Linked DNA regions of Homo sapiens: region 1 is linked to region 2. The links are contacts of gene promoters, found by promoter capture Hi-C in human tissues and cell types (Jung and others, 2019). All regions are on one chromosome and are shown on one strand. Each heading gives the region's core, a stretch centred on a gene start or on the middle of the fragment in contact. The rest is flanking DNA. Distances are from core to core; before and after follow the strand shown.

Region 1 (2,700 bases), core at 5-2,504, 160 kb after region 2:
GATCAGGCCACTGCACTGTAGTCTGGATGACAGAGCAAGACCCTGTCTCAACAACAACAACCAAAATCTGTTTGGGCCTCGCAAGGTTAGAGAAAAAAAATTAAAAAATAAAATAAAATAAAATATTTTCCTGTAGTCTCAGCTACTTGGGAGGCTGAGGCAGGAGGATCACTTGAGCTAAGGAGTTTCAGGCCAGCCTGGGCAACATAGAGAGAACTTGTCTCTATAAAAAGTTAACTGATTACTTTTTAAAACAAAGAGGTTTTTTTTCAGCCTTATTGAGGTATAATAGACATATACAAAACCATGCAAATTTTAAGCGTACAATCTGATGAGTTTTCACACCTGTGAAGCCACTATTACAGTTAAGATACTGAATTTATCCACAGCTCCAAAAAATGTCTTCCTGCCTGAGGTGGTGGCTCACGCCTGTAATCCCAGCATTTGGGAGGCTGAGGCGGGAGGATCTCATGAAGCCAGGAGTTTGAGACCAGCCTAGACAACATAGCGAGACCCCTTATCTACAAATAAAATTTAAAAAATTAACCAGGCATGGTGGCTCCTGTCTGCGGTCTCAGCTACTCTGGAGGCTGAGGTTGGAGGATCAGAGTTGGAGGCTGCAGTGAGCTATGAAAGCGCCACTGCACTCCAGTCTGGACAACAGAGCCAGATGCTGTCTCGACAAAACAAACACTGAAAAAAACTTTCCTGGAGCACTTCATTCATCCCTCCCTCCCGCGCCTGCCTACCCCTGGATTTTTTTTCCCTGAGCATAATTCTCATGAAGATTCGTCTATGTTGTTGCGTGTATTCCAGCCCTATTTTGCACATGAGGAAACTGAGGCACAGAGAGGCGTGGCTTGCCCCGGAGGTCACACTAGTCGATTTGGTCCCAGGCCAGGGCGGGTTCTGGGTCGGCAGCCCGCGCAGGTGCACTCGGGAGGCGGGGCGGGCGCTGCAGGTGCGCAGTCAGTCTCACCTGGGCGCCTGCCAGGAGGTCAGTCCTGGGCCCTGGGGGGCAGGACTAGGGGCGGGGCCAGGGGCAGGGGTTCCCCAGCTCTGCTGCCTCCGATAAGGGCCTGAAGGGGCTGTCGCGCTCCTGGCGGTGTGATAAGGAGGGCGGGGGGAGGCCGCGGGAAGGCGTCGGGGTTTGAGGTCCCCGCCTGGCGACCCGGGATCGGGGCAGGAAAGGCGGCTGGGCGGGGAGAGGGCGGGGCGGGGCGTCTGGCTTGGCCACGCCCACCGTCATCCGGGGTCCTGGCCCGCTAAGATGGCGATGGCTGCGGTAGCAGCGGCGGCGGCTGTTGCCTGGCCCGGTACCCTGGGGACGGGGGCCGAGTAGCGCCTTCCCCGGGCCCCGTGAACCGGCTGCGGGTCGCCCTTGGGGGGCAGCGGCCGCAGCCCCCCACCTGGGCCCTCGGTCCGCCCTCCCGGCGCGTCCATGAACTCAGTGTCGCCGGCCGCCGCGCAGTACCGGAGCAGCAGCCCGGAGGACGCGCGCCGCCGGCCCGAGGCCCGCAGGCCGCGGGGTCCCAGAGGCCCAGACCCCAACGGCCTGGGGCCTTCCGGAGCCAGCGGCCCCGCTCTTGGCTCTCCCGGGGCTGGCCCGAGTGAGCCGGACGAAGTGGACAAGTTCAAGGCCAAGTTCCTGACAGCCTGGAACAACGTCAAGTACGGTGAGGAGGGGGCCCGGAGATCGTGGGGGTGTCGGGGGCCGTTGAGGAAAACCAGACCCCGGTCCTGCCAGTTATCCCACCCTTGTTCCCGTCCTGAGTCACCTGTGGGTCCCCTCCCTGCCCGGCCCAGGGTGGACCTGTGGCAGGTCCAATAGTGTTTTCAAGCCCCGCCCATTCCCCTGTGTGACCTTGGGCAAGATCCTTTGCTTCCTGGCGCCTCCGTTTTTGCCCCTCTCTGTAAAATGGGTACAATAATCAGAACTACCTTCCTTCATCCTGAATTGATGGTGGACACTCCTGTAGCTGTCACTGGGGGCCCCACCTCCGACGGAATCCCCGGAGCCACCCCGGAGATAGGAACTAGGATCGTGCCCATTTCACAGATGGGGGAATGGAAGCGCTGTTGCTGTCATGCAAGTGCTTCATCTCGCTGGGCGCTGCCCCTACGTCTCCCCAGGTTGGGTGGTTAAAAGCCGGACCAGCTTTAGCAAGATCTCCAGCATCCACCTCTGTGGCCGCCGCTACCGTTTCGAGGGCGAGGGTGAGCTGGTGGTTGGGACCAGGGCTGGGGGAGGCCTCTCCACGCCCGCCGGAGTGTCCCTGGTGGCAGCTGACAGACCCGCTCTTGTAGGTGACATACAGCGTTTCCAGCGGGACTTTGTGTCCCGCCTGTGGCTCACATACCGCCGGGACTTCCCGCCCCTTCCTGGGGGCTGCCTGACCTCGGACTGTGGCTGGGGGTGCATGTTACGCAGCGGCCAGATGATGCTGGCACAGGGCCTTCTGCTGCATTTCCTGCCCAGAGGTGAGCCATAGGGGGGAAGGGGTGCACTAGGAGTACAGGGTCAACTGCCATATCAGCAGTATTAGAATTACTTACCAACTAAGAGTTCAAAGTCACGTTAGAATTGTGTGTCAAGTAAGTTTTGGAGAGATGAGAGTTGTTTATAAGAGTTTCAGCCGGGGTTGGAAACGGTGGCTCATGCCTGTAATCCTAGCACTTTGGGAGGCTGAGGCGGATGGA
Region 2 (2,700 bases), core at 103-2,602:
TCGGGAGGCTGAAGTGGGAGGATCTCCTGAGCCCAGGAGTTGGAGGCTGCAGTGAGCAGTGATCGCACCACTGCATTCCAGCCTGGGTGACAGAGTGAGACCCTGACTCTAAAAATATAAATAAATAAATAAATAAATAAGTAATAAAAATATATAAAAAGGGCCAGGCGCGGTGGCTCATGACTGTAATCCCAGCACTTTGGGAGGCCAAGGCGGACAGATCACGAGGTCTGGAGATTGAGACCATCTTGACCAACATGGTGAAACCCCATCTCTACTAAAATACAATAAATAAATAAATAAATAAATAAATAAATAAATAAAAAGTAAAATAAAAATCTGCTCTTAACACACCTCCCCAAAATAACCAGACAGGCAGATGTGGTCAAACATACCTGAGGGTGAGTCCTGGAGCTCCCTGTGTCAACTCAAGCAAGCCACTTAGCAATTCTGGGCCTCAGTTTCCCCATCTGGAAAAGGGAGGTCCTCAGGGTGTTGCCATCAAAAGATGGTTGTAATGTTTCAATATAGTTCCGCATATTACACATTCAGCACAGACCCTGATTCAGGCACACACAAAAAGAACAAATATGACCAAAACAAGAATAACATAATTGTTATTAGTTTCATCGTGGTGATGGCCTCTTTCAGGCCACAATTCTCCTCTCCCACATTTACCCCCATGAGTGACCTCAGTCCCTGTTGACTCCCCAAAGCCTAGGAGAGTTTATGTCCAGCTCCATCCCCCCAATCCAGGGCCTGAGCCTCCTGAGGGCGCCAGTATGGAAGTGGAGGGGCTGTCACTTCCACCCATGTTGCTGGTTTCCTCATCTGGAAAATGGGCATGTAACAGTGTCTACCTCAAAAGGCTGCTGGGAGGATTTAACGCGAGGAGGCAGAGAAAGTGCCTGGTATACAGTAAGCGCTTAATTAGCCTTTGCCATTAATACCTATTCATGTTATAGATGAGATCCCGGGGATGGGGCTTTCGCGGAGCCTACTTCCTCCTTCCTCCTTTCTCGTCCCCACTGGACCCAGACCCAGCTTTGAAGACAGGGTCGGAGTGAAGTTTGCAACTGGGAAGGCTGCACGCCCCCATGTCCTCCCCCCAAAACCTCTAAACCCGGCCGGCAACGGCGGGAACTGGGATGTGCACCCACCGGGCATCGGAGCAGTCCCGAGGCACCAGGTGCTCCCATCCAAGTGCAGCCTGTCAAGCGCAGCCAGTCCCCGCGGCTTCTTCCTGAGGACCTCCGGCCGCGCTCCTTCCGCGCCCGCGTCCAGACTCACCCTTCCGGGGGAACACAAGCTCGAACCCGGACCCCTCCCCGCTCCCGCGGGTAGCTACTGCTTGTCCCCCGCCGAGACGCCTCCTCCCATTGGCCGCCTGAAACGCACACGCCCATTGGCAGCTGCTCTGTTCTCCCTGCTCGTCACCATTGGATTTTTTTTTTTTTGCCATGGTGGCGGCACTCTCATTGGTCCTGGGGCTCATTCGTCACTCAGCCGCGATTGGCTGAGTCGGCACCCAGATGCGCTGTCGCTTCTGCTATTGGCTGGCACTCGGTGGACGGAGACGGGGGAGGGGCTTGCGAGAGGCGGGAGGGAGAGCGAAGTGTGTGGGCAACGCGGCCGGATCCTGGAGTTCCCCTCCGTGCTGTGGAATTGGGTCAGGCGTGTACGGTCCTGACCCTAGGACACAGCTGCATGTCCTCACCTCGGTGTTCAAAGCTGCACCGGCCACCATTCAACCCTCCGACGCCCTGCCCTTTGGCTTCCCCGTTCCATCCGGTCCTGTCTCCTTTCCCTCGTTTCTACCTGGCCGACTCCATCCTGCTGACTAGAATTCCCCCTCCTTCACTCCTGGGAGGCATTCCTCGCCCACCTGCCCCAGTCCTCTTCCTGATCACCTGCAGCCCTGTCCTCTGAAGCTCCCTAGCGGTCAGGGTAGCAGCTTGGACATCCCGCCAGACGTGAATTCAAATCCCCACTCCGCAAGTCGTGCCCATTTGCTGAGAAGCCTACAGCCAGAGCGTTTCACATACATTATCTCATTTGATCCTAGCAGCAATTCCCTGTATGGCGGCTCTTATTATCCCCATTTCACAGAGGAAGAAACTCAGGCATGAAGAGGTAACAAAGACCGTCCTCTGACCCTTCTTCTGTGCCACACCATAACCACTCCTCGACTTTGTCTTTCACCTGCCCAGCCAAGTCTTAGCAAAGAAGCCTATTAAGTCATCCGCTCATCCTTGATGTCTGATCAACTTCCTCATCTTCCACTTTTTTTTTTTTTTTTTTTTAAGATGGAGTTTCGCTCTTGTCGCCCAGGCTGGAGTGCAATGCTGCGATCTCGGCTCACTGCAACCTCAGACTCCCGGATTCAAGCGATTCTCCTGCCTCAGCCTCCTGGGTAGCTGGGACAACAGGCGCCCGCCACCACGCCCGGCTAATTTTTGTATTTTTAGTAGAGATGGGATTTCACCATCTTGGCCAGGCTGGTCTCGAACTCCTGACCTCGTGATCCACCCTCCCAAAGCGCTGGGATTACAGGCGTGAGCCACCGCACCCGGCCCTTTTGTTGTTAATTTTTAAATTTTGTGGCTAATTTTTAAATTTTTGTAGAGATGGGGTCTGGCTATGTTGCCCAGGCTGGTCTTGAACTTCTGGCCTCAAGCAATCATCCTGCCTTGGCTTTCC

The links. Contacts are between HindIII fragments. The study calls those that stand out against the background at their distance.
Region 1: the fragment with the promoter of ATG4D here is called in contact with the fragment with the promoter of TYK2 in region 2 in 1 of the 25 tissues and cell types used here (adrenal gland).

What each region holds. Positions count from the first base shown.
Region 1 is chr19:10,542,650-10,545,349 of GRCh38, forward strand. ATG4D (autophagy related 4D cysteine peptidase) reads left to right here and starts at 1,255. Exons shown (of 10, transcript NM_032885.6): 1 at 1,255-1,676; 2 at 2,134-2,217; 3 at 2,308-2,481. The coding sequence starts at 1,442. RefSeq lists silencers at 971-1,020, 1,031-1,370, 1,421-1,600 and an enhancer at 1,646-2,241. The HindIII fragment of the contact is 15,918 bases long and covers 1-2,700 here.
Region 2 is chr19:10,379,220-10,381,919 of GRCh38, forward strand. It overlaps TYK2 (tyrosine kinase 2), which reads right to left and starts at 1,353. Exons shown (of 25, transcript NM_003331.5): 1 at 1,161-1,353; 2 at 396-560. RefSeq lists enhancers at 1,251-1,410, 1,319-1,982. The HindIII fragment of the contact is 20,387 bases long and covers 1-2,700 here.